Regions from separate parts of the Homo sapiens genome. Here all the other regions are linked to region 6. Evidence: promoter capture Hi-C in 16 types of primary human blood cells and fetal thymus (Javierre and others, 2016). All regions are on one chromosome and are shown on one strand. Each heading gives the region's core, a stretch centred on a gene start or on the middle of the fragment in contact. The rest is flanking DNA. Distances are from core to core; before and after follow the strand shown. Region 1 has its middle 29 kb from the start of XXYLT1-AS1. Region 2 overlaps XXYLT1 (xyloside xylosyltransferase 1). Region 3 has its middle 120 kb from the start of XXYLT1-AS1. Region 4 has its middle 67 kb from the start of XXYLT1-AS1. Region 5 overlaps LOC105374294 (a long non-coding RNA gene). Region 6 holds the start of FAM43A (family with sequence similarity 43 member A).

Evidence for each region. Contacts are between HindIII fragments. The CHiCAGO score rates a contact against its expected background, and 5 or more counts as called.
Region 1: a fragment that was not itself captured here is called in contact with the fragment with the promoter of FAM43A in region 6 in 2 of 17 cell types (total B cells and naive B cells); the score reaches 7.5 in total B cells.
Region 2: a contact is called between a fragment that was not itself captured here and the fragment with the promoter of FAM43A in region 6, in 7 of 17 cell types (naive B cells, total B cells, neutrophils and 4 more). The highest score is 10.4, in naive B cells.
Region 3: a contact is called between a fragment that was not itself captured here and the fragment with the promoter of FAM43A in region 6, in 7 of 17 cell types (monocytes, endothelial precursors, M0 macrophages and 4 more). The highest score is 7.5, in monocytes.
Region 4: a contact is called between a fragment that was not itself captured here and the fragment with the promoter of FAM43A in region 6, in 4 of 17 cell types (endothelial precursors, monocytes, naive B cells and 1 more). The highest score is 13.2, in endothelial precursors.
Region 5: a fragment that was not itself captured here is called in contact with the fragment with the promoter of FAM43A in region 6 in 5 of 17 cell types (naive B cells, endothelial precursors, M2 macrophages and 2 more); the score reaches 7.1 in naive B cells.

Annotation. Positions count from the first base shown.
Region 1 is chr3:195,063,312-195,067,590 of GRCh38, forward strand. No RefSeq gene overlaps it. Among named protein-coding and RNA genes, the nearest start is that of XXYLT1-AS1, 29 kb to the right of the region's middle. The HindIII fragment of the contact is 7,527 bases long and covers 1-4,279 here.
Region 2 is chr3:195,136,857-195,141,047 of GRCh38, forward strand. All of the region lies in intron 3 of XXYLT1 (xyloside xylosyltransferase 1), which reads right to left. Among named protein-coding and RNA genes, the nearest start is that of MIR3137, 4.4 kb to the left of the region's middle. RefSeq lists enhancers at 2,186-2,687, 2,688-3,187. The HindIII fragment of the contact is 5,122 bases long and covers 183-4,191 here.
Region 3 is chr3:194,968,083-194,972,219 of GRCh38, forward strand. No RefSeq gene overlaps it. Among named protein-coding and RNA genes, the nearest start is that of XXYLT1-AS1, 120 kb to the right of the region's middle. The HindIII fragment of the contact is 1,737 bases long and covers 1,758-3,494 here.
Region 4 is chr3:195,025,525-195,030,246 of GRCh38, forward strand. No RefSeq gene overlaps it. Among named protein-coding and RNA genes, the nearest start is that of XXYLT1-AS1, 67 kb to the right of the region's middle. The HindIII fragment of the contact is 2,044 bases long and covers 1,907-3,950 here.
Region 5 is chr3:194,993,073-194,997,367 of GRCh38, forward strand. LOC105374294 (a long non-coding RNA gene) reads right to left here. Exons shown (of 4, transcript XR_924873.2): 2 at 3,188-3,376; 3 at 1,116-1,317. Among named protein-coding and RNA genes, the nearest start is that of XXYLT1-AS1, 99 kb to the right of the region's middle. The HindIII fragment of the contact is 803 bases long and covers 2,417-3,219 here.
Region 6 is chr3:194,683,006-194,687,184 of GRCh38, forward strand. It overlaps FAM43A (family with sequence similarity 43 member A), which reads left to right and starts at 2,878. Exons shown (of 1, transcript NM_153690.5): 1 at 2,878-4,179. The coding sequence starts at 3,822. LOC124909474 reads right to left here and starts at 3,904. Exons shown (of 3, transcript XM_047449428.1): 1 at 2,855-3,904; 2 at 2,333-2,413. The coding sequence starts at 3,248. RefSeq lists enhancers at 2,608-2,967, 3,719-4,179 and a silencer at 3,708-3,897. The HindIII fragment of the contact is 4,459 bases long and covers 108-4,179 here.

The DNA of each region.
Region 1 (4,279 bases), core at 903-3,402, 380 kb after region 6:
ACCGGCCTTCCCTTCACTCTAGAAGGTGTTTTGTTCTTTGCAAGCTCCTTGGGGAGTGGCTGGCTGGTCCGCTCAACACGCCCCGCAGGGTAGCTCTACCTTCTCTCCCTGGTGAAGACTCGGCACTTCCCAAGGTGAGACCAGTGGGGCATGGGACTTTCTGCTGGGGGGGACCCTTTGGAAGGTGGTCACATAGCTGAACGGGACAAGATGTTAGCAGGTATAGCTGTCAATGGATCATAAGCAGAGAGGTGAGGGCTCCTGGGGGACAGCTGATTCTCTTTGGATTGTAAGTGCGCCTCCAGAGTTGGTCTGCACCCCTCACTGTGCCTGTGGAGAATGCGGGAGAAGGGAAGTGTGTAACCGCATACTTTGAGACAGTTTTACTCTGCATGTTCATGTCATGAATCCTAAGTGGGTGAATGACGAGTTGAGGTCTGGCAGTTTCGCATTTGATCTGGACTCTTCTTTACCCACATGTGAACCCCAGTGGCTGCATTTGAAACATGTGTTTCCCCAGACAGCTGGGGGCAGGGATACTGCCCAGAGATCTGGTTCAATCCCTCAGCTCCTTGTTTTTGCAGATGAAGAAACAGGCCCAGAGAGGAAAAAGGTTTATCCAAGGACTCGTGACAGGTTAGCTTTGAGCTGAGGCAGCACTGCCTCCACCTCCTGGACACGCCCAGCAAGTTATCTGTGGACACCTGACTGACAGGTTCACTGTGAGCTGAGGTAGCCCCTGACCTACTGGTTTTTGTGGAGTGGCACAGCCAACAAAAATTGGACAGCTTACAAGCATGCATCTGTTCATCCATGGGGTTACGGAGATGCTACCAACACATTTCATGAGCTCCAAAACGGCTGTAATTTATAATTTAAAAAGAATATTCTAAGTAATAATGGTTAGAATTCCCTTACATCTGTATTATTTCACAGCTTACCAAGTCCTTACACATCTTTTCCTCCTTCCACACTCCTTTGAGGAGCTCTTACCAGTGTCTAGAACTGGGGAAAGAGGTGGCCTTGCCTGTCCAAGATGGCCAGGTAGTGAGGGCAGGATGTGGACTCAAAGCCAGGCCTCCGTCTCGGGTGTGAGGCTGTCTCCACTATACCACCTGCTTGCTTGGAAATTTCTGCTCCCTGCCAACCTCCAGATTTAGCCCAGCCCGTGGGCCTCCCATATTAAGATCAGCCAGGAAGTGTTAAAATTAGCAGAGGTTTGGCCTCTAGTCAAAGCAGGTGCCAAGACACAGCTGCACTTACTACCTTAACCTACAAACTCCTGGTGTGCTCTAGGTTGGGCCTGTGAACCAACACATCATACTTTGACTTGATGAAATGCTGTTGAAGGAGAGGCCGCAGTCTGTTTGGTTTGACACACACAGAAGAGCAAATCTCTTCAGCAAGCCTGCGTGCTTTCCAAAGGCCATCATCATTTGTAGGGTGGACTTTGTGTATACACAAAAGATGACAGTATATGAGAAATGAAAGCAGGGTCTGGAGCTGCTATTATTAGATCGCTTTTATTTGGAGAACTGGGGCATCCACAGGGAAGTTGAAGACCCAGAGCCGACTCAGCCTAGATTATGTGTTCTTAGGGGTGACATCGGCCATGGACAGCCGGGAGCTGTAAGACGGCCAGGCTGACACTCACCTGGAACTGGGGAGAAGGGATGTGGTTAAAAATGTACAGCATTTATTATCTTATAATAAAGGTAATTAATACTCGATGTGGAAAATACAGAAATATAGATGAAAACAAAAAGCACCTTAATCCTAGCACCCAGACATGTTATCTTTTCAGATTTCTGTTTTCCTCATATGTACAGGCGTATTCTCGAGAGTGGGTTTCCATGAAGCAAGTTAAGCACAGCACAAGGAACTATGCTTGCATGACAGCAACTGTAACAGGACCCAGGTCAGGAGCTGGCACTCCACGACTTGTCAAGCACGGCAATGGCGAGGCACAGCAAGCCCCGGCTGCTCTGTCAGCGGGCTGGGGTGTGATCTGTGGGCGGGCTGGGGTGCCTGTGCGGTGATCTGTGGGCGGGCTGGGGTGTGATCTGTCGGCGGGCTGGGGTGCCTGTGCGGTGATCTGTCGGGCTGGGGAGTGATCTGTCGGGGGGATGGGGTTTGAACTGTCAGCAGGCTCGGGTGCCTGTGCAGTGATCTGTCAGCGGGTTGGGGTGTGACCTGTGGGCGGGCTGGGGTGCCTGTGCGGTGATCTGTGGGCGGGCTGGGGTGCCTGTGCGGTGACCTGTGGGCGGGCTGGGGTGCCTGTGCGGTGATCTGTCGGCGGGCCAGGGTGTGATCTGTTGGCGGGCCGGGGTGTGATCTGTTGGCGGGCCGGGGTGTGATCTGTCGGCGCTCTGTGATCTGTCAGCGGCCTGGGGTGTGATCTCTCAGCGGGCTGGGGTGCCTGTGCGGTGATCTGTTTGCGGGCTGGGGTGTGAGCTGTCGGCGGTCTGGGGTGTGATCTGTCGGCGGTCTGGGGTGTGATCTGTCGGCGGTCTGGGGTGTGATCTGTCAGCGGGCTGGGGTGCCTGTGCAGTGATCTGTCGGGGGGCTGAGGTGTGATCTGTGGGCGGGCTGGGGTGACTCTGCAGTGATCTGTCGGCAGGCTGGGGTGTGATCTGTCGGGCTCGGGTGTGATCTGTCGGCGGGCTGGGGTGCCTGTGCAGTGATCTGTCGGTGGGCTGAGGTGTGATCTGTGGGCAGTTTGGGGTGCCTGTGCAGTGATCTGTTGGTGGGCCGGGGTGTGATCTGTTGGCGGTCTGTGGTGTGACCTGTCAGCGGTCTGGGGTGTGATCTGTCAGCGGGCTGGGGTGCCTGTGCAGTGATCTGTTGGTGGGCTGGGTGTGATCTGTTGACGGGCTGGGGTGTGATCTGTCAGTGGGCTGGGGTGTGATCTGTGGGCGGGCTGGGGTGCCTGTGCAGTGATCTGTCGGCGGGCCGGGGTGTGATCTGTGGGCGGGCTGGGGTGCCTGTGCAGTGATCTGTCCGCAGGCTGGGGTGTGATCTGTCGGCGGGCTGGGGTGTGATCTGTGGGCAGGCTGGGGTGCCTGTGCGGTGATCTGTCGGGGGGCTGGGGTGTGATCTGTGGGCGGGCTGGGGTGCCTGTGCGGTGATCTGTGGGCGGGCTGGGGTGCCTGTGAAGTCATCTGTCGGTGGGCCGGGGTGTGATCTGTCGGCAGGCTGTGGAGTGATCTGTCGGTGGGCTGGCTGCCTGTGTGGTGATCCGTCGGCGGGCTGGGGTGCCTATGTGGTGATCTGTCAGCAGGCTGGGGTGTGATCTGTCTATGGGCCAGGGTGTGATCTGTTGGTGGGCTGCAGTGTGATCTGTCGGGCTGGGGTGTGATCTGTCCGCGGGCCGGGGTGGGATCTGTTGGTGGGCTGCGGTGGGACCTGTCAGCGGGCTGGGGTGTGATCTGTCAGCGGGCTGGGGTGTGATCTGTGGGTGGGCTGGGGTGCCTGTGCAGTGACAGTCTGCTGTGCACTGGGGGGTTGGAAGGTCGAGGCCACTGGTGACAGAGGGGAAGCTCCTGAGAGGTTTACTTAAAAGTAAATGAGGGATGTTGTTTGGCCTTTGCCCATTTTGACCAACCAGCTTATTGTTTTTTTCTTGCAACAACAAAATACACACATAGCTATAGACACATTTTAATTATAGAAAGGATTGCAGGGAAAATACCTTTATTATTGTGAGTCTAAAATTCTTTAGCCTTTAACTCACTTTTTTCCCGTTGAAATAATTGTTTTTTTAATGTGGTGTTTGAAACACCTATGTTTTTAGAAGTTGAAATACAGCAGAATAGATGCTCTTTTTATACATACGTGTGTGTGTAGGTATGTATCTATACACACGTGTGTACACTGATATACATACACATATATGTAATTTTAAAAATAGGATCGTATTAAACATATGATCTTACATTTTGCATTCTTTATTTAATAGCACATTCTAAGTATTTCCTGAGGCATTACATATTCTTCGAATAATGCCTCAAGTATTCTGTTATATGGATGAAGCATATTATTCATCTACCTATTCCATTCTTTTTTTTTTTTTTTTTTTTTTTTTTTTAAAGACAGACAGAGTCTTGCCCGGTCCCCCAGGCTGGAGTGTAGTGTCGTGATCTCAGCTCACTGCAGCCTCTGCCTCCTGGGTTTGAGTGATCCTCCCAGCTCAGCCTCCTGAATAGCTGGGCGTGCACCACCATGCCCAGCTAATTTTTGTATAGTTGTAGACACTGGGCCTTGCCATGTTGCCCAGGCT
Region 2 (4,191 bases), core at 1,494-3,993, 450 kb after region 6:
GATAAATAACTTATTCTTTGTTTTAGACCATTTTTAGAAGTGGCGTCGAAGGGTAAAAACCTTCATCAGAAAGGCCTGGACCCAGAAAACAGGTTCTCAAACTGAGAAATGAGCACAGGATTGAGTGTCTAAAAGGAGATGATTACACTGCAACTCGTTCGAGTCCTAGGAGGCTGTCCACAAGCTTAGGCTTAGCTGCAGGCAGCCAATGGGATCCTTCAATCATACAGGTACAGCCTGCCACAGTGCCCAGGTGCCTCATCAGCTTGCTGTGGGGGCCAGGACAGAGAAGGGGCACTGAAGGGAAGAAAAAAGTGGAGGGAGAAACAAAGTGGGGTGTGACACTTTTCTTCTGGGGCAGGGGAAGGGGTGACATGTAGGGACAGGGGCATTACAAACTGAAGTTTGAGATGCTTTAATAATGGTGCTTCAAAAATCCTTGACCCCATATTGTTGGAAGCTATTTTCAGCTGGCAATTTACAAAACCACACATGGTCAGCTCCAATCTGGCCACAGTTTCTGCACCTTTGCCATTGGGCTTTCGGCACTGGTCTTCTGCACCATGGATAAGAGCACAAAGCCATGTTTTCCCACATGGGTAAAGGGTGGGGTAAGGGTGTGCACCTGCCTGTAACCTCAAAGACCGTGAAGAGAAAGGGGCTAGTGGCAGCTTCATCCAAGGCAGAAGGTGATTCCTTCCTGCACAGCACACTCCCTTTCTAGGCCAGGACAAATTCCTTCTGGCTTCAGAGGTGGTGCTGCTGCGCACTCTACATTTAACCTCTCCGTGCTCTGTAAATACTGCCTGCTTTGGCTTCACAGCACCAAGGAAAGTTATGGCTTGTATCGGACACGGAGAAAGGGAGAGGGCTCTGATGGAGCTGCTCTGTGCTTAGTATTATGTCATGTGTACATGACATCATTGTATTCTCAGCTACTTACTGAGTACCCTTAAGTAGGTCCTGAAGGCCAGTGATTCTCAAACAGGAGGAAGAGAGGGGTCATAAACCCTTGCAGGTCAGAACTGGCAGGCAGGCTTTATCAGACACACCCTTTCTGCCTGCATAGCAACATGTGAGTCCCAGATCTCAAATATGCCATGGAAGGGGAGGTTCTCGTTTTATAGCCCATATGCTGGGTGTCTCCCCATTTCACAGATGAGGAAACAGAGGCTTTAAGAGGTTTAAGTATGTTTCGCAAAGTCATTTGGCCAGTAAGTGATGGAGCCAGAAGTCAACCTCAATGACAGAAACTTTGCCAACATTTTAGTCTATCTCCACAATGGCAATAAGAGAAGCAAGTTATCTTCCCAGGAAATTTAAGTGATTTGGTTTTATTCCTGCTAGGGACTTCAGTTCCCTCCGCTTCATGCCATCATTTGAAAATAATAACCAAGCCTTAAAACTACAAGATGTAATTAGAGAGCTGGACACTGGCTGGAGGAATGGTTTCCGTGCCAGGCCCTACCTAGACTGGATTTGTGAGACTAGGAGGGGAGAGGCTGGGCAATATTTTACTAGTCAAGGGCCTGGTCCTTGACTAATAAGGTCATAGCCTTGCAGAGGGAGACACGCATTCATGGGAAGCGTCTGTCCTCCAAGCCTGAGGAGTGAGGGCCACAGCTGGGTGCAGGCGGCCCTCAGAGAGGCTTTATGGAACTGGCAGCATCTCACCTGTGCCTCGAAGAATGAGCAGGGCATATAGAAAAGTGGGCTGGAGGCCAGGTGCAGTGGCTCATGTCTGTAATCCCAGCACTTTGAGAGGCCGAGGCGGGTGGGTCACAAGTGAGGAGTTTGAGACCAGCCTGGTCAGCATGGTGAAACCCCGTCTCTACTAAAAATACAAAAATTAACCAGGCATGGTGGCGGGTGCCTATAATCCCAGCTACTTGGGAGGCTGAGGCAGGAGAATTGCTTGAACCTGGGAGGCAGAGGTTGCAGTGAGCCAAAATTGCACCACTGCAGTCCAGCCTGGGCAACAAAGTGAGACTCTGCCTCAGGAAAAAAAAAAAAAAAAAAAAGAAAGAAAGAAAGAAAGAAAAATGGGCTAGAGAGAGAGCATCCTAGTCAGAGAGAGAGCATCCTAGACAGAGGGAGAGCATCCTCAAGGGCCCCAAGTGTGGAAGACACCTGTGTGGGCAACAGCCAGGGGTTCAGTGCAGCTGAAACAAAAGTACAAGGGGAGCTGGTGAGAGGAGAGGTGGGTGCAGGGAGGGAGTAGCTGCCCCCAGTGTCAGGCTAAGGAGTTCGGCTTTTAAAATTAGTCCAATGTCTAGCATACAGCAGGTGCTCAGGAAAGCTGGAGACAGAGAGTCATCAGTTAGTTTGGGGACATGGAAGTGGGTAGGCGGTCCCTTGGCTGCAAAGCTCCCGGGTAGACAGTCCCTTGGCTGCAGAGCTTGGAGCTGCTAGTGACCCAGGAGACTACGTCTGATGTGAAATGAAATTGAAAGTCGAGCAGAGAGTCTGGCTAAGACCTTCTAAGAGGCGGAAAATGATGTGGAGGCAGGGAGAGGGAACCAGGCCCCCAGAGTCAGAATAGGCAGCAGGAAGGACATAAGGCCTGCTGCTTACGGATCTCTCATCTCTGTCCACAGTCACATTTGGCAAAGGTACCTCCACGTCGCAGGAGTGCAGCCACGGACGCTTTCACAGTGTGCTCAGCCGCTCAGCTGCAGGCATGGGGCCAGCCCTCTAGGCTATATACCTCTTGAGGGTGGGGTCTGTGGCTTGTTCAGAGCCTGGCCCTTAGCAGGTCCTGAAGAAGTAACTGTGGAATTCTTTACTAGATAAGCTCAGATGTGCCAAGATGATAAGACAAAGGCCCCTTCCCAAAAACACTCCCATGACTGAGGCCAAGCCCACATGAATCTCCTAAGTTTATCTTGGGTAATGCCAGGGCCAGGACACATAGGTGAGTTTCACAATGGGAGCCTGCGTTTCCATTCCATTCCCCTCACAGAGTTGGGGTGGGCTGGGCTTGGCTGTATTCACCAACAGTCCCTATGGACTTCTCCCAGATGAGGACCCCTCCCAGCTTCTGGAGATTCTGTGGCAGACATAATACAAGCCCATCCAGGAGGCATAAGGCGACATCTCCCGAGCCCTACGTGCTGGTCTAGGGAGCAACACCCTCTCTGCAAGACATCTTTAGGCTCTCTGGAGTACATGAACACAGGTGAGTCATCCTTTTACAGTCACAGGCTGAGAGGGTGCAGCCCTGGTGAGATTCTGACTTGTAGCTAATGTGCACTAAAAGCAGCTCTTGGGAATTTCTGAGACCAGCCAGAAATCAATGGTGACAATAAAGCATTTACACTTTTGAGCAGAGTTACCTCATCTCAACTTCGATTCCTTGATTCCTTCTGCATGGAATTATGGCCAAATCCCAGTGGTTAGTTCTCAAAATTAGCAAATTAGTCTATAGGCAACGTTAGCACCACCCAATAGAGAAAGCCTAATCCTTCCTATTCAACCCATGCCCAAATACCAGCTCCGGAGGTGGCACGGACTAGCAGAGGATGTGGGAGGCACCCTTACTGTTATGGACAGCATGTATGGCCCCCACCCAAATTTACATGTTGATGTCTACATTAGTCTGTTCTCACACTGCTATAAAGACATACCTGAGATTGGGTTGATTTATGTAGAAAAGAGGTTTAATAGACCCACAGTTCTGCAGACTGTACAGGAAGCATGGCCAGGAGGCCTCAGAAAACTCACAATCATGGTGGAAGGTGTAGGGGAAGCAAGCACATCTGCACATGGCAGCAGGAGAGAGAGTGAGAGAGAGAGTGAGAGAGAGAGTGAGAACAAAAGAGAGAGAGCACAAGAAGGGGGAAGCACTACACACTTTTAAACAACTGGATCTCATGAGGACTCATTCACTATCACGAGAAGAGCAAGAGGGAAGTCTGCCCCCATGATTCAATCACCTCCCACCCAGCCCCTCCTCTAACACATGGGGATTACAATTCAATATGAGATTTGGGTGGGGACACACAGCCAAACCATATCAACGTCCTAACCTCCAGTGGGATGGTATTCGGGGGATTTGGGGGAGTTATTAGGTCATGAGGGTGGGGCTCTCATTATGGGATTAGTGCCCTTATGAGAGACATGAGAGAGCTTGCCTCACCTCTCCCTACCTCTGCTCTCTCCATCATAAGAGGATACAAGACGGCCATCTGC
Region 3 (4,137 bases), core at 1,376-3,875, 280 kb after region 6:
TTTGGGTAGGACTAGAGGGCTGTCCCGTTGGCAGAAGAAAAATGGGGAGAAGCCATTGCTCCACTATGTTAGAACAATGTTCCTAAGTCTTTAACATGCACACGAATCTCGGTGGTGGGGAGGGTCTCGTTCAATGTCAGATTCTGGCTCAGCAGGCCCATGGCCGGGTCTGAAATTCTGCATTTCTAATAAGCTTCTAGTGGTGCTGAAGCTGCTGGTCTATGGGCCACATGTTGAGTAGCAAGAGATTAGAATGAACTCCCCATCCTGTGGGGATCTGTAGGGGTTACAAGAGGAGGCAGAAGTAGCCCAGGAGAGAGAGCCTGCAGGATGCTGCCTGTTGAGGATGGATGCCCAGAAGGCCCGTGTCTCCTCGTGATTCTGCCACTATGCCTGCTCCATCAATTCAGAAGATGGATACTGACAAGATACAATTAATTTAATGTATTCGGCAGAATGTGTCAGGAAGTCAAAGAAAAAACTCCATGCACATCTCAGTAAGGACTGTTAAGACATTTGATAACATTTACATCGATTTCTGAAATAAAGGGAAAATATACTCCCTTTATGTGATAATATCTCTTCTAAACCAACTTCAAACATAACACCTAATGGCCGTTACTAGAAACAATCTTATTAAAGTCAAGGACAGGCAAGAATATCTGTTAATTAACACTCTTCTAAAATGTGGGACCAAAGCATATAAACCAGAAATAAAAAGTGTAGCTATAGAAAAGAAAGAGGAGACACAGTTATAATTTGCAGATGGTATAATCATCATCCCATAAAACCTAAGACTCATCGGAAAATTCTTGGAATTAATGAAAGAGCTTGATGAAGTAATAGAATACATAAGAAGCATAAAAAGCAATAACTTTCATGCACACATATCTAGTGATCAGTTCAGGAATATGTGTGAAAGTTTCCTTTCACACAGGACAATGAAAATAAGACCAAAATGTAGAAATTAACGTCAATTGTTCATTTTAATTTTAATTAGTTAACAATCAATAAAACATAAAACTTTACAAAGAGATATAAAAGACTTGGGTGTGGTGAGGACACCCGTGCTTCCAAATTTTGTTGCTGTTGTCTCTTCTGCTGTACTATTTGTCCTTGTACATTTATGCCTTGAAAAAATCCAATATGTTGTCTCTAATGTTATCAGACAGCAATCACCTAAGGGGCCTGGATGAAATAAACCACCGGTATTGACTGTATATATTACAGCGCAAATCCACTACCAAGAGAAATGAGGAGGGAGAAGAAAAAAGCAGGGGATGGGAGGAAAAGAGAGTGTGGTTTAGGCCATAGGGGGGTTTTGTGGGGGGAGGGGAACGTGGGATATTTTTTCTCTTAAATGACATCTTCTAAGAAGGTGCATCTCCTTTGCAAGAATGTATCTCCTTTGCAAAGCAAGCTGACACTAAGTAACAAGAGTCCTGAAAGTATTCAAACTCTTTAACCCAACAATCTCACCATTTGAATCTATCCCAAGGAATAACTTTAAAATCTCAAATAAACCTCATAACAAAGATGTTCACCAAAACATATTTATGATAACAAAAAAATGAAGATAATTTAAATGCCCAACAGTGGAAACGTTTCAGGAGCCTATAGTGCATCTATTTGGTAAGATATGTTACACAATCATTGAAAACAATGCTTGCCAAGTGTGATAAAAACACAGGAAACATTCACCTTCAACAAAAAGGCTGCATAAAATTCAATATGTACCATCCTCAAAAACATTAAAAAGCTTTGCCTAGAAAAGGAATGAAAGGACATGCCCCAAAATGTTAACACTGAGTAGTTTTAATTTTCTCTGTTTCTACTTTTCTAAAATGAGCAAGTATTTCCTCTTAAAGTATACAATCCAATGGTTCAGTATATTCAGTCTGTGCAACCACTGCCAACATCAATTTTAGAACATTTTCATCATCTCAGAAATAAACCCTATACATTTTGGCTATCACCCTCAGCCCCCAATCCCCTCAGCCCTGAGCAACCACTAAGCTCTGGGTCTCTTTATAGATTTTCTTATTCTGGATATTCCGTATAAATGGAATCATACAATACGTGGCCTTTGGTGACTGGCTTCTTTCACTTCCTTCAAGGTTCATCCGTGTTGAGGCATGTATTAACACGTTATCCCTTTTGATGGCCAAATAATATTCCATTGTATGGATGTACCATATTTTGTTTATCCATTCATCAGTATATAGGCATTTGGGTTATTTCTACCTTTTGGCTATTATGAATAATGTGGCTCTAATCATTTATGTACAAGTTTTTGTACAAAATGACAAATATTTTCATTTCTCTTGGTCATATCCCTAGGGAATAGAATTGCTAGGTCATATGGTTACTCTCTGTTTACTCTTTTGAAGAATGGCCAGACTGTTTTCCAAAGTGTGTCCCCCATTTTACATTCCCACCAATAGTTTATGAGGGTTCTGTATATCCTCACCAACTCTTATTGTTATCTGTCATTTTTATTATAGCCTTCCTATTGGGCATGAAGTGGTATCCCATTGTGGTTTTGGTTTATATGTCCTTGATGGTTAATGGCATTGAGTATCATCCATGTTCTCAATGGCACTTTGTATATTTCCTTTGGAAAAAGAATAAACACTTATATCCTTTGCCTGTTTTTTAATTGGGCTATTTGTCCTTTTATTTTATTATAGAGTTGCAAATATTTCTTCTTGCTTTGATGTTGTTATTTTTTATCGGGCTTTTTTTTTTTTAGACATTCTTTTGATCTTTTGACAAATCAGAGAGCCCAGCTCAACTTCTCACACACTCTCCAGGTATTTTTTAAGAAACGAAACATTTTGGTACAAGCCAAAATGTTGTTCTCTAGGTAGCAACTAATTGTGGCAGACATTTGTCTGTTTTGTGCTTGTTGTTGGTTTGATGGCCCAGCATCTGGAACCCTTCTTGTGTTTGTGAATTTACTACCTCACGAGTATTTGTAGGAAGCAGAGCCCTTCCTCCACGATGGATGCCAAGAAGGCCAGATTTGTGCTTTTTCCAGTGTCTCCTGCAGCTAGGACACGAGAGCATGGCTTAGACTCAGCCAGTCAGATTCCTACCTGCCCCAGATGTGTGCTAGGATCTGCTGAGGGGAGGCAGGAGGGTCACCAGGAAAAACATTGCAGGGATGGCTGGACCTGTGATGGTAACATTGTACAGAGGGGTGGCAGCAGGGGCAGCAGTGTGAGTGCCCAGCGTCACAGGTGCTGGTGGCAGTGGAGTGGCAGCCATGCCAGCTGAGGCTCTGTTTCCCAGCAGATGTGACAGCGGCATCCTCTCTGCCTGGTTCTGAGCTGTGGTTTGGTGTAAACCTGAGTGCTGCTAGCCTTTCTGCTCCAGCCCATTTTATAAGCTCAGTCCTGCATCTTTCCCAGTGATATGGTAAAACATCCAAGATTGGGAAGTTTCTTTTTGTTTTAAATTAGCATAATTGCTTTCTACCATTGCTATTAAGAAGCTTGACTAGCCAAAGATGATGTTCCTTTTCCTGAGAAATGCCACATGCAATGGGACACTCAGAATCGAAAGAGATAACAACCACTTTGGACTGTATTTAGTATGAGAAGCTCAAACAGATGCTAGGCTCAACTGATCCCCAACAAATATTCTAGTTGTCAAAGCAACCCCTGCAGGCACCAAAGCACTCCAACCTAGACACAACCTGGGTAAGAATGATTTACTGTTGTACAGAGAAATAGTTTAAACACACAGAAGCAAAAGAATGTCTTGTCTACGGTGGTACAGAGTCCTGATGTATGAATCCAAAATATGGCCCTTATAGCATCGGGAAGTAACCAGTTTCGTGGCCCAGCTGGACCAAATGCTGGTATCGACTGGGTGTGTTATAGGCAGAACGCATGATTCTCAGGTGGCAGCTAGCCTCCACGATGGCCCCTAATGATTCTAATGTCCTGGCATTCAAACCCTATGTGGTCTCCCTTCTCACGTTGAATCAGAGCTGCTCTGGATGACAAACAGAAATGACAGAAGCTACAGTGCATGGCGTCCAACGCTAGGTCATAAAAGGTACTGCAGCTTCCTCCTTGGCCTTTGGATGGCTCACCCAGTATGGGGAAAGCTGGCCACTGTACTGGGAAG
Region 4 (4,722 bases), core at 1,679-4,178, 340 kb after region 6:
CTGTTTATTAAAGCCATCTGAGGCACTTTCAGACAATACCCATGCCCAAGCCCCCAGACCATTCCGTCAGAATGGAGAGGGGAGCACAGGTGATTCTCCTGCAAAGCCAGAGAACCCCTCTTCTTAGCTCCCCATAAAACTCCTGTTCAAAGCCTTAGGCCAGTATCAGTTATTTCTTTCTCCAAGCGAGATAATGCAGAGGCATTTTACTGTGTATAATTTGTGATGCTATCACTTTTTCCCCAGGCCGTCTTTATGCAGACCAACCCAAGATGAAATGTTCGGGGTTGGGCAGGCAGATCCTTCAGCCCGAGTGGTGTGGCAAGCTGGAGGGAGGGGGAGGCGTGGCACCAACTCTGGGGAAGTTTCATGACAGCGAAGCTCAATCATCACAGCTGAACACCCAGGTCAGGTGAGGGAGGCCCCAGCCATCCCAAGACGGAGCAAAGCCCTCGGCAGTCAAGTTAGTTGGGCTGGACCAGGCCCCGGAGCTCAGAGGTGGAAGTAGTTTCAGACTGATGAGTTCAACAGGATGATTTTGTTCTGTGAAGTGGAAGCAGCTGGCAAATTGGAGGCTCTCACAGAGCCTGTCTCTTATAAGTAATGGGAAATGAGAAATTGTCCTCAGCAAAAACAGAGGGAGCTCCAAGGAGCCACAGTTTAAATGTCCACCCAGGCCAGGAGCGGTGGCTCATGCCTGTAATCCCAGGACACTGGGAGGCCGAGGCGGGCGGATCACTTGAGGCCAGAAGTTTGAGACCAGCCTGGCCAACATGGTGAAACCCCATCTCTACTAAAAATACAAAAATACAAAAATTAGCCAGGCTATGGTGGCGCACACCTGTAACCCCAGCTATTCAGGAGGCTGAGGCGGGAGAATCACTTGAACTCGGGAGGCAGAGATTGCAGTGAGCTGAGATCGTGCCACTGCACTCCAGCCTGGGCGACAGAGAGAGACCCTGTCTCAAAAAAAAAATATATATATATACATATATATATCCACCAGAGACAAGCTCCTCTAACACAGACACCTGCATGTAAACTATAGGCACAAAGGTAAAATAACAGGAAGGGCCCTAGATTTGGGAGTCAATATAACTGGATTCAAAGGCCAGCCCTGCCCTCCCCTTAAATCCCAGCACATCTTTGCCAACATTGGTTTATCAAACTTTTAATGTTTTCCAACAAAGAGGTGATAAATGTTATCCCATTCTTTTAATTTACATTCCAATGACATTTTAATAGAACTATAAAACACCAGAGTTGAAAGAGACCTCAGTGATCAAGTACTCAAATGCCTTCGTTTAAAGAATTTTTAAATTGAGTATAAGTAATACATTGACACATTATCATGGTAAAATTATATATATATTATATATATATATAGAGAGAGAGAGAGAGAGAGAGAGCAATCTATTGAATAGAAAATGAAAATTCCACTTTGCACCTTCCTCTGACTCTCTTACTGAGGGTAAATTGATGTTCATCATTGCTACATGATGGGTAATTTGCTACATATCTACTTGCATATGTAAATGCATAAAAGTATAGTGAGTTGTGGTATTTTACATAAAAGATATATAGCCGTATATCTTTTTTTGTAATTATTATTTTCTAACAACACATTCTAAGGGTGTCTTAACACATATCTCAGAAATCTTTCTGTATCAGTACACATAGACCTGTTCCACTCTTTGCTCCATAATATCCTATAGTATGGGGTGTATTTGTTATCCATTGCTGGATAACAAATTACCCCCCAAATTTAGCAGCTTTAAAACAAAAACAATTTATTATTTCACACAGATTCTGAGATCAGGAGCCCTGAAACAGCCCCTCATGGTGGTTCTGGATCAGGGCCTGTCGTGGGGTTGCAGCTGAGCTGGCAGGGCTGTGGTCATCTGAAAGCTTGATTGGGGTTAAAGGATCCACAGATAAGATGGCTAACGCCCATGGCTGTTGGCTAAAGGACTCAATTCCTTTCCACGTGGGCCTCTCTACAGGGCTGCTCACAACTAGGCAGCTTCCCCAGGGCAAGGGATTCAAGAGCAAGGAGAGAGAAAACCCAAGATGGAAGCGGCTTAGGTTTTACTAAGCCCGGGAGTGCCATGCCATTCCTTCTGTTACAGGTAGTGAGACAGGCATGAGCAGGGCAGGAGAGGGCTCTGGGGGAATGTTGGGTGATGGTTTGGCAATGATCACACTGCCTCTCTAAAAGTGATAAATTGGCAGCCAGTGCCAGGGAGAGGCCATTTCCTCATGGACCACACCTGCTGCACTAAAGTGTTCATTGAATGCAGGTGCCAGGGAGACACAACTTCCCAGGCATGGTGCATTAAGAGACAAAATGGCAGAGTATGACCCTCTGGGAGCACCCCACAAGAAAAGGGAAGAAAGCCTCAGGTGGGTATGTGTACAACTTCCTATACACACTGTGTAAGGGTAAGGAGGGCACTGCACATGCAGGCAGCTCACCCTAAGGTGAGAATCACGAGAAAGGGGCCAGCCCAGAAAGTCCTCGGATCAAGGTTAAACGCTGCACTTGTTCTGACGTCGCCCGCTTGGGGTCTTTTCCCAGTGTACTTTCTTTCCTGGTCTAAAGGCTTTATAAAAACCTTCCACTCCTCCTCTTGCCTTCCTCTCTTTTTCAGCCTTAGGCCCGTCAGTCAAATTCTTTCTTCTGAGGAGGCAAGAATTGAGGTTGCTGCAGACCCACACGGATTCACCGCTGGTAACTCAGATACCTTCCAACCTTCCACTGGTAACAATTCTGCCATATGCTGTTGGTCAAGCAGATCTTCCCTGGTTCAGTGTGGAAGAGGACTACACTGGGGGGATGCCAGGAGGTGGAGATCACAGGGATTGACTTGGAGACCTGCTGCCACATATGGTCACCAGGGTTATTCTCCATTCTCACAGGTGGCCTCCCGTTTCTCATGCTCACAGGCGGCACTGCCATGAGCATCCTTGGGCATGCTTCTGTGAGTTTTTTTGTTTTGTTTTGTTTGTTTGTTTTGTTTTTGAGATGGAGTCTTGCTCTATCACCCAGGCTGGAGTGCAGTGGTGCGATCTCGGCTCACTGCAACCTCCACCTTCCAGGTTCAAGCGATTCTCCTGCCTCAGCCTCCTGAGTAGCTGGGATTACAGGTGCACGCCACCATGCCCAGCTAATTTTTGTATTTTTACTAGAGACGGGGTTTCACCATGATGGCCAGGCTGGTCTCGAACTCCTAACCTCAGGCAATCCACCCACCTCTGTTCCCACTGAGCATGCCTCTTAATGCCCAGGTACGTCTCTTCTAGTCCTAGTGGTAGAATGGCTGCAATTCTTGCATTTTCAAATGGGAAACTGAAACCAGAGGAAGGTGACTTCTCCAAGGTCATACTGTTAATCGCCTACGAGTCCAGGATGACATCAGTCACCTGACTTCCAGCCTACTTTATTTTCAGAGCCACTCTGTAGGCAAAATACACATGGCCTGAGATTTCAGGAAGTATGTTGAGATAAAGCCTGGCTGGGAATTGCCAAGAGTCAGTTTCCAGAACGACAAAACGTGTAATGGCTAATCTTGCTTTGTAGGCACTACATAAACGTCACTACACTCAAAGCCTAGATTAGCCAATGCATGAATGTCTAATCTGCCTTGATTAAAAGGAAGCTGGTGGAAATGAGGAATCTTTTCCATGCTGTCATTAGCAGAAACTTCGGAGTGAGACAGACCCGGGTTTGAGTTCTGGCTCTAGCTCTGTGACTGTAAGCCAGCCACATCATTCCTGTGTCATGGTTTCTCCATCTGTAAAATGGGAATCATCAGAGTACCAACTTCACAGGCTGTTCAGTGGATGATGTGATGGTGTAGATCATGCACTCAGCGAGGGGCTGGCAGGCTTCCCACAGGAGCTGCTGCTATTTGTATTCTCCCTGTCTGGCCTACTTCATTTATCCATCAAGCTTCCTGAATGAATGGATTCCATTTTCTAAAAAATAGATGGTACCTGGAGAGCTCATTTTATTCCATTTTCCCACATCTTGACTCTGCTGTTAATACCATCCATTATTTTGTGGCCTGCTTTTTGTTGCATACTGTCAGATTTGTGATGAATGTAGCACAGCGTGGGCGTGAAGTCAATACAGAGCCTCCTGAGAGCTGCCCCTGTGGCCCAGCACAGACTACTTCTTGCCCCTTGTGTGGCTGGCTGTATGTGCAACTGTCTCTGCGGGCAGGACCTGAATCCTCCTCACCTCTGTGGCTGTAATGTGTCTGGAATGAATGAATGAATGAATGAATGAATGAATGAACAAATGAAAAAAAGGGATCGGCCGGGCGCGGTGGCTCATGCCTGTAATCCCAGCACTTTGGGAGGCCGAGGTGGGCAGATCACAGGAGGTCAGGAGTTCGAGACCAGCCTGACCAACACGGAGAAACCCCGTCTCTACTAAAAATACAAAATTAGCTGGGCGTGGTGGCACGTGCCTGTAATCCCAGCTACTTGGGAAGGTGAGGCAGGAGTATCGCTTCACGCCGGGGGCAGAGGCTGTGGTGAGCTGAGATCGCACCATTGTACTCCAGCCTGGGTAACAAGAGCGAAACTCTGTCTCAAAAAAAAAAAGGATCAATAGAACCAAATCAACTGAAATGAATGGGTCACAAAGGACATCGCTGGAACATTGAATTATTGCCTGGATTTGGATTTAAAATGTTAAGAGTATTGTAGAGATTT
Region 5 (4,295 bases), core at 1,568-4,067, 310 kb after region 6:
AGTAGAGACGGGGTTTCATCTTGTTAGCCAGGATGGTCTCGATCTCCTGACCTCGTGATCTGCCCGCCTCGGCCTCCCAAAGTGCTGGGATTCTGTAATCACCACGCTTGGCCTACCTACTTTATTAAATAATGAGCACAACATAGGAAAGACATCACATAAAAGTTGTATTTGTATATTTTTCATGATAGACTCAGGAAACATTACAGTTATATTTGGGGGCTAGAAGAATTAAAATTCTTAAACAAAAACAGTTATTACTCCCTCTACCTGACTCTACTACATTTCTGGATTGAGAATATCCCAGCCTGAGTCCCAATTCCCTATTTCTAAAGTGAGACTTCACCTCTAACGGAAATATGCATAAGACCAGGAACGGTTTTGTACTCCAGGGTGTTTTAATGGCTTGATTAGTCCTTAAAAGGCGTCTCCCCGGCCAGGCATGGTGGCTCACGCCTGTAATCCCAGCACTTTGGGAGTCCCAGGTGGGTGGATCACCTGAGGTCGGGAGTTCAAGACCAGCCTCACCAACATGGAGAAGCCCCATTTCTACTAAAAATACAAAATTAGGTGGGTGTGGTGGCGCAGGCCTGTAAACCCAGCTAGTCGGGAGGCTGAGGCAGGAGAATCGCTTGAATCTGGGAGGTGGAGGTTGCAGTGAGCCGAGATCGAGCCATTGCACTCTAGCCTGGGCAACAAGAGCAAAACTCCATCTAAAAAAAAAAAAAGTCTCCCTTTTGTGTAGCACCCCAGGGGTTTCCCTATTTCTCACAGGACGATGGGTATCTTGCTTTCTCCAGGCAGGGGAAGCATTACCGTCAACCCAAGTGCATCCCAGGGAGATGAGTTTAGGAAAGATCGTCATGCCTGTGAGGCTGAGAATCAGAGCATGATTCCCTCAAAACCTGCAGGGCTCAAGGCCCCTTGGTGACCTCTTCCACCTGCAGGGGTTTGCAGCCCTCACTCTGAACACCGCTGCCTTCGGGCGCTGGCATCCACAGTCTCTCTTCACTGCAGGTTCCGGTGACTCAGTCCAGCTGCCCCCGCCCGCCCACACTTACCCACGGGGCTTCACCCTCGCTGCCTCCCAGCTGCCCCCGTCGCCCCACACTTACCCTCGGGGCATCACCCTCGCTGCCTCCCAGCCCCTCTCACGGAGGAAGGCTGAACATGTTCTCCCTGGAAACTGAGGCCTGGGTGAGGAGGGGCTGCTGGAGAGCAGGAATCTGCTCCCATCTTCAGGACCCTCCCTGGAGAAGGACACTTTCCCACCTCCACTAGATTCTCTGGAAATTCTTCAGTCATCATCTGTATTCCCTGAAAAAAAAAAAAAAAGTGGGGGTGGGGGCACGTTTTATCCCTTAAAAAAGGGAGAAGTCTTTCTTGATTCCCAAAACAGCAGAAAATCAACATTATTTGGCTTTTTTACTTCCAAGACAGACTTTTGGAGTTTGCCAGGCTGGGCTGCTTGCGTTAATGGCAGCATGGATCAGGGAAAATGCCAAGACGCTGAGGTCTGAACACCTGGACTCCAATCCCAACCCCGCACTCATCCACCGTGTGACTTTGAGCAAGTCACTCCACCTCTTTGAGCCCTAATTTAAGTCCAAAATGTGGTGGTTGATACCTGACTCCCAGAGTATGGGGGAGGATTAAATGGGAGCATACACCTACAGGACCCAGGACAGTTCCCTGGGGTCAGGAGATGCCCCGTGACATCCTTTCCATCCCACTGTCCCTTGCTCTCCAGCTCAGAGTCAGGACCCGTCCAGCCCTCTGGGACAAGCCCAAGGAGCTGCTGCCCTATTTCCCTTCTCTAACCCTCAGCCCTAGCACACAGGCTCGGCTCTCTGGGTTCCCCCTTTTGCAGGCAGCCCCTGCCCTGCCCCAGCTCCTGCCCCAAAGCCTTCCTCAGACTTCACAGGGTCCGTGTCCTTCCCCTCTGAGCCTGGACCACTGGGTGTCACACACATGTGTACACTCTTGCACACACCAGTGCACAACCTCCCCCCCAACCCCCTGCCTTCCTAGGGCTCCCTTTGTGGCTGAAGCCAAACCCAGAGAAAAATGCAAAGTAGAAAGAAGAAGAATGGAGTCCATTTTTCACATTCTTCCAGGATCCATGAACTTCAGGGTGCTCAGATGGGAAATGAATATGGGCCTCTTTTTTAATCCTACATCTACTTCATTGTCTCAATTGGGAGAGTAATTAATAAATGATTAATGGGAATGGCTTCTACAAAGATGGAATGATCCCGAGATGTGTTGCAACCTGCTGCCCAGATCGTCTTTAGAGAATTTAGAGCTGCTGATAGCTTCAGGTTGACTCTTTTCCTTTACATAGCAGATAATGCCCCAGGCGGAGGGACTGTCTCCCCAGAGCTGAGCACTTGACTCACATCAAAGGGAAAAACCAAGCTTAACATTAAACAGCGGGTTCAAAGTACCAGAGCAGCCCATCTCCAAGGCAGTGTGAGAGCCCCAGGCTGCGGGCCTTCCAGGCCAGTGAGAGCCAGGCTTGTGCCCTGATGATCGAAGGCACCTTCTCCCACTGCCCTGGGGATTTCATGGGAGCCAACAAGATGCCACGGAAATTAATACATAAATAAAAGGAAGTATAGACCCACAAAGGCAGCAGCAGTGACCTTCGGATGAGATCTTAGGGTTGACTTTGAATTGTTATTTATTGTGCTGTTTTTCTGCATTGAGCTTGCATTATTTCTGGAAACTTTGTAATGTAATTTTTGAAGAATCTGGTACAAGGCATCTGAAAGGCACCTGATTATGTAAAGGCAGACAGACTGAACACAGATGGTCTGCTCAACCCCTTTTCAGGGTGAAAAAATGCTTGGTTCTAAGGTGGGCAGAGGTCCTGAGGACTTCACAGCAGGACCAGGTCAGATGACACGAAGGGAGCGAAGACTCTCACTGAGATCACTCTGCCACCGCGTCCTCTACAGTCTCTGCCAGGCCTCCAGGCCCTCATGCCCTGATCCTGCTGAGACTCCCCAGCCCAGCTTTCCCACGAGTGCCAGGCCAGAGAACCCACAGCCAAATGTATTTTCAAAGCCAACGACAGCTCTGCCTCCACTTGAGTGAGCTTAGGAAACGCAGGAAGAAAGGAATCCAGGCGCCCAAGAGGTGAAAGGAAAGAAGTGCTTTACTTGACCAAAGGTAGAACACGTACTTCCGGGGGGTGCAGAGCTCTTGACTATTCGAAGCTTCCACATTTGAATTTCGCTCCAGAAGGCGCAGTCCGGGCTTTGAACTGCTTTTCTGCTGGAAAGCAGCACCACCGTATCCCCTGGTTTTGTGCTTCCCTTGCTACTGACTTAATTGAAAGTCCAGTTTCCATCCTTCAAAATGTAACCTAAACCTGAAAATGTGTAGAGACACAAAGTAGATGAGGGTGTCGAGGGGTGGGTGTAGGGATGGGGATTAACTGTAAATGGGTGTGAGGGATCTTACTGGGGGTGAAAATGCTCTAAAACTGGTTTCTGGTGATGGTTGTGCCACTCAGTAAGTTACTAAAAGTCATTGAATTTTACACTTAAAATGATTGAATTTCATGATCTGTAAAATAGACCTCAATAAAGCTAGTCATAAAAACAAAACAACAACAACAAAAACAAAACACCCATTCTTATATAACCTCCTCTCCAAACTCTTCCCAGCTGCCATCACGCATGGAGCTGATCACGCCCTCCTCGGAACGCCTGCAGCTCTCTGGGTTTCCCTCCCTAACCTGTGAGATTGGTGGTTGTTCCTGCCTCTCCCATCTAGACCAGGCCCCGTCATCTCTGACTGCCCTATGTCTCTGCCCCAGGGTCGCCCAACGTCCTGAAAACCTGCCTGGCCTGAATAAATGAAGGGAGGACGGGGGACAGCTTGCAAGCTCACTCTATGAGCTCCATTGCCCAGGCCTTCTTGGCTTCCGGGAACTTAACTGGACACACAGACCTATTTCATTCACACCCCCAAGCCACCCCATCCCAGGCCCAGTGGGACAGACAAGATCACATGCCTTGTGACCCAAAACTCAAGGACACTGCTACATCCAAGCACAGAAGGAAGTCGCCTCATCGAAGCTCTTATGCTAAGGTATTCATACCCCCGTTATTTATAACAGTAACAAAGCTGAAAGACCAATAGGGCATTGGTTAAATAAAAGTACCACCGTAAGAGGCATTATATAGTGAATTAAAAGGATATTCCTCAAAACAATTTAATGGATGGAAGACTATTTACAATATCATAGCAAGCCACAAAAGCAGGTTGTAAAAATGTAAACTGTA
Region 6 (4,179 bases), core at 1,628-4,127:
CACAGGTCCAGGCCACAAGGGGACCGCGGGTTCTCCTCCAGGGCATGACTCACACCAGGGTGTTCACACTGGCCTAGAACCTTTCTGTTCTCCCAAGGTTGGAAACAAGCTTATTAGGAAGGCGGTCAAGGCGTGACATAGCCTCGTCAACAGGAGCAGCTCTGTGGGCCTGTGCCGCTGGGACTGGCACTCCGGCTGCTGCTGAACAGCCCGGCCCACCAGTAGACTCCTCCCTGCCTCTGTGGGCCACTGGGGTCCATGCCACTGCATGAAGTGCAAAGTGGTGCCTCTCGCTGAGGCTGAGACCAGCCTTAGCTCCTGCTACTACTCCCTCTTCCTCTTCCCCAAACCCTCTTGAGCCTTGGAACTTTGAGCGATTTGGAAATGATCACTGCTTAAACATGATGTCTGCTTTTGTGGAGTTCAAGATTATGGACCTACTAAAGGTCACTGAACACAGCCTCATTTGATATGTTTTTACCAGAGTTTTTGTTCTTTAGAGCGTGTGCTATCTCCTTCATTGCCACTACAAGATAGCCTAGAAATTTAAGGAATTAATGTTGCCTTAAATGGCTTATTATAGTACTAACTACCTCATTCCAACAGCATGTCTGGTATCCCTCCATTAACCCATCAGTGCAGCTGAGGAGTAAGGCATTATAGCTCTGGTTGAAGGACCCTGTGGGGCCAGTTAGCCATGAAGAGGCCATTCCTTCCCTTGGAGTGTAAGAGAGCCAAAAAACACAATCAGGAAGGTTTATTCTTTGATTGTTACAAGCTCCATCTTAATTACTACATGTGTATGCATTTTCTTTCTTTCTTTCTTTCTTTTTTTTTGAGACGGTCTCACTGTGTCATCCAGGCTGGAGTGCAGTGGCGCGATCTCGGCTTACTGCAACCTCCGCCTCCCGGGTTCAAGGGATTCTCCTGCCTCAACTTCCCAAGTAGCTGGAATTACAGGCGTGCACCACCATGCCCAGCTAATTTTTGTATTTTTAGTAGAGATAGAGTTTTGCCATGTTGGCCAGGCTGGTCTTGAACTCCTGACCTCAAGTGATCCACCCGCCTCAGCCTCCCAAAATGCTGGGATTACAGGCGTGAGCCACCGCGCCTGGCCTTATGCATGCATTTTCATGCTTCTGTAATTTTGCTACCCTCTATACCCATAAAGCCCTTCAGTCTTTTCCTATTTGGATAAATTCTGTTTATCTTTCAAAGGTCACCACCTCCATGAAGCCTTTTCTGATTTTCCTAGTCACAATGAATGCTTTCTTCCTCCAGCTTCTCATAGTGCTTTGAGTCTTTCTCATAGCATTTAGCCCACTCTGTCTTCTTGTCCACATGCATATCTTGCTCATTAATTCTAGTTACTGAGTGCCTATTTGTACCATATTGGGGATACAGGGTACTTGCAGAGAACCCACAGTCCAGTGGAAACCCAGAGTTGGGTAGAGTTTACAACCTTCATTGGACTAGGAGGCAGGAATCCCGTCTGCTCCTAGCTCAGGGCCGGGCACCAAAAGGTAGTCAGAAAAGTAACTTAAATGGAAACTCAGCAAAGTAACTTAAATGGAAACTCAGCATCAACGACTCTGAGAAAATTGAGTTAGATTTCAAAGGAAGGTTAAAAGTTGGCAAAGGTAGAGGGTGGGCAGGGGTCAGTTTTATTTTGTTGGAATATCCCAAGGGAATTTCCAGGTATGGTTGCAGTGACTCTGGCATGAAGACCTGGCGTGGAAGCCAGAGACATCAAAGATCCCCAGGGGACTGGGATGGTGGGAAGGGATCACTGTCCTCCTCCAGGACCAGGCTGGGAGTTTGATGCAGGATCATTCGGACATTGATCCCACTCCAGCCATACGTCTTTTTGCTTTGACTGACCATACCATAGAGGCAAGCAGGCTGTTTCAAGGGCCCAGAAATGAGTTACTGGCTAAGGGTCAAGCCGGTCAGAAGACAACTACACTGTCCAGTTGGCACATGATAAAAGCAATACTGATGCAATTATCACTCCCATTGGAGGGTGGCCTGGCATTATTTGTCACTTAAATAAAAAACGTCATTTGAATTTTTACTAGGAATTCTCATCCAAAATATGTCAATGATAGAATGAAACCGCATGACCGGCTTGCCAAAGTAAACTAAGTCCTAACGACACACGAGCATTAGAAATTGTGTGTATCTCAGAAAACTGCTCTACCCTGAGGCCTGACAGCAGGAGGGGGTCTTGCCGGGGTTCGGACGGGGAAAAGCCTTATTCATTGACGGTATTCTACAGTAGTCACCCCAATCATGTTACCACTCACCTCACTTTACACTGTCTGCTGCTTACCTGTGAATACGAGCTCAAGATAGTGAGAGATAAGCCTTGGTGTTTTCTGTGCCTCTCTCTTTTCTTTAATGGAATACAATTCTGAAAATAATATTAAACAGCACCCAGTCATTCTCAGAAAGCCGTCACACAAGGAAGAAACCACTATTTTCCCAAACTTTTTGTACAGGAAATTATAATCTGTAATCTCATCTTCTGCCACCTCCCTCAGAAGTTTCGATCTAGACATACATGTATTCAGTGAGTGGCAATTCAGCCTGGGGGGTGGAGTGTCAGGATTCAAATCTTTTTGCTGCGGGGTAACCCCAGGTCCCAGTGATTTCCATAGACAAAAGAGATGCTGGTAAATTTGGGATGTAATTGGAGGATTGGACCGGTCTCCCCGCTCCCTCGACCAATGGCTGTCACGCGGTCCCTTTAAGAAACCAGGAATCCGCCCGGAGTCGGAGCCCAAAACAGATCCTCTTCTCTGCTCCTCCCCTGTCCCCGCGCGGCGAATGGTTCGCGCCGGCCTATATTTACCCGAGATCTTCCTCCCGGACGGCAAGGATGTGAGGCAGGCGAGCCGGACGCCGCTCGCAGCACCGGAGAGGGCGCACTGCAAAGGCGGGCAGCAGACCGTGGAGAGCCCGGGAGCGGAGCTGGACACCGCCTCGGAGGGAAGAAATGAGGTAGCGGCGGTTCCCGGACCCGGCCATGCCCGTCCCCTGTTCTCGGAGCCCAGCGCCGTCTCGGCCAGGCCAGCCCGGACACTGAGCGGGCCGAGCGCGAGTCCCCGGCGTCCGGCGGAGCGAAGATGCAGTGAGTCCCCGCGGGACTGCTGCGCGGGGCCCGCCGCGGCCAGCCGGACCCAGCATCCGACCGCACTTTGGGCGAGCTGCTGACTTGAGACCAGCCCAAACGGGGGGCTTTCCATCTCCAGCACCCCTCGGAGGTGGGGAGCACCGGCCCCTAGGCACACTCGCTGTAGAGTTTCCGCGGGTTTTGGCCCCAGTCCTGAGGGTTGTGTGTGTTAGGGGACCCACCTCACGTTCGCCGAGGAGTTCCTGCATATTCTTGCACCATCCCGGGTGCTGTTGCTGGGGCTCTCTTTATTTGCACGCGCGCTTCTAGCTTTTTTCCTGACATTTTCCACTCTACGCTCGTTCTTTCTCCCTTGCATTTTGTTGCTTGCCTGAGACTCTTTGCTCTCGCCCTTGCCCAGGCTGGGGTAATTCTGTGTGCGCGCGTGTCTCCCCCGCACCAACCTTTTTTGCACACTCGAAGCTGAATATTTTCTTTTTTAGAGAATTTACCCGCACCTCCTGCGGGGTTCCTAAGCACTCTCTCTGCTCCCCTCCCCCCAACTCCCTACCACAGGGCCGCTCCCAGTAGTTTTATTCTTCGATCTTGCCCGGGCCGAGCCTGGCAGGGGCCGGTGGCTCAGCGGGCCTCGCACCCGGCGCTCCGCCGCCGCCGCCGCCCAGCTGCGCCGGGGCGCCCTCCGGAGATGCTGCCGTGGAAGAAGCACAAGTTCGAGCTGCTGGCCGAGGCGCCGCCGCGGCAGGCGTCCAAGCCCAAGGGCTACGCTGTGAGCCTGCACTACTCGGCGCTCAGCTCGCTGGCGCGGGCGTGCCCCGAAGGCGCGCTTAGCCGGGTGGGCAGCATGTTCCGCTCCAAGCGCAAGAAGCTGCACATCACTAGCGAGGACCCAACTTACACCGTGCTCTACCTGGGCAATGCCACCACCATCCAGGCGCGCGGCGACGGCTGCACCGACCTTGCTGTGGGCAAGATCTGGAGCAAGAGCGAGGCGGGCCGTCAGGGCACCAAGATGAAGCTGACGGTGAGTGCGCAGGGTATCCGCA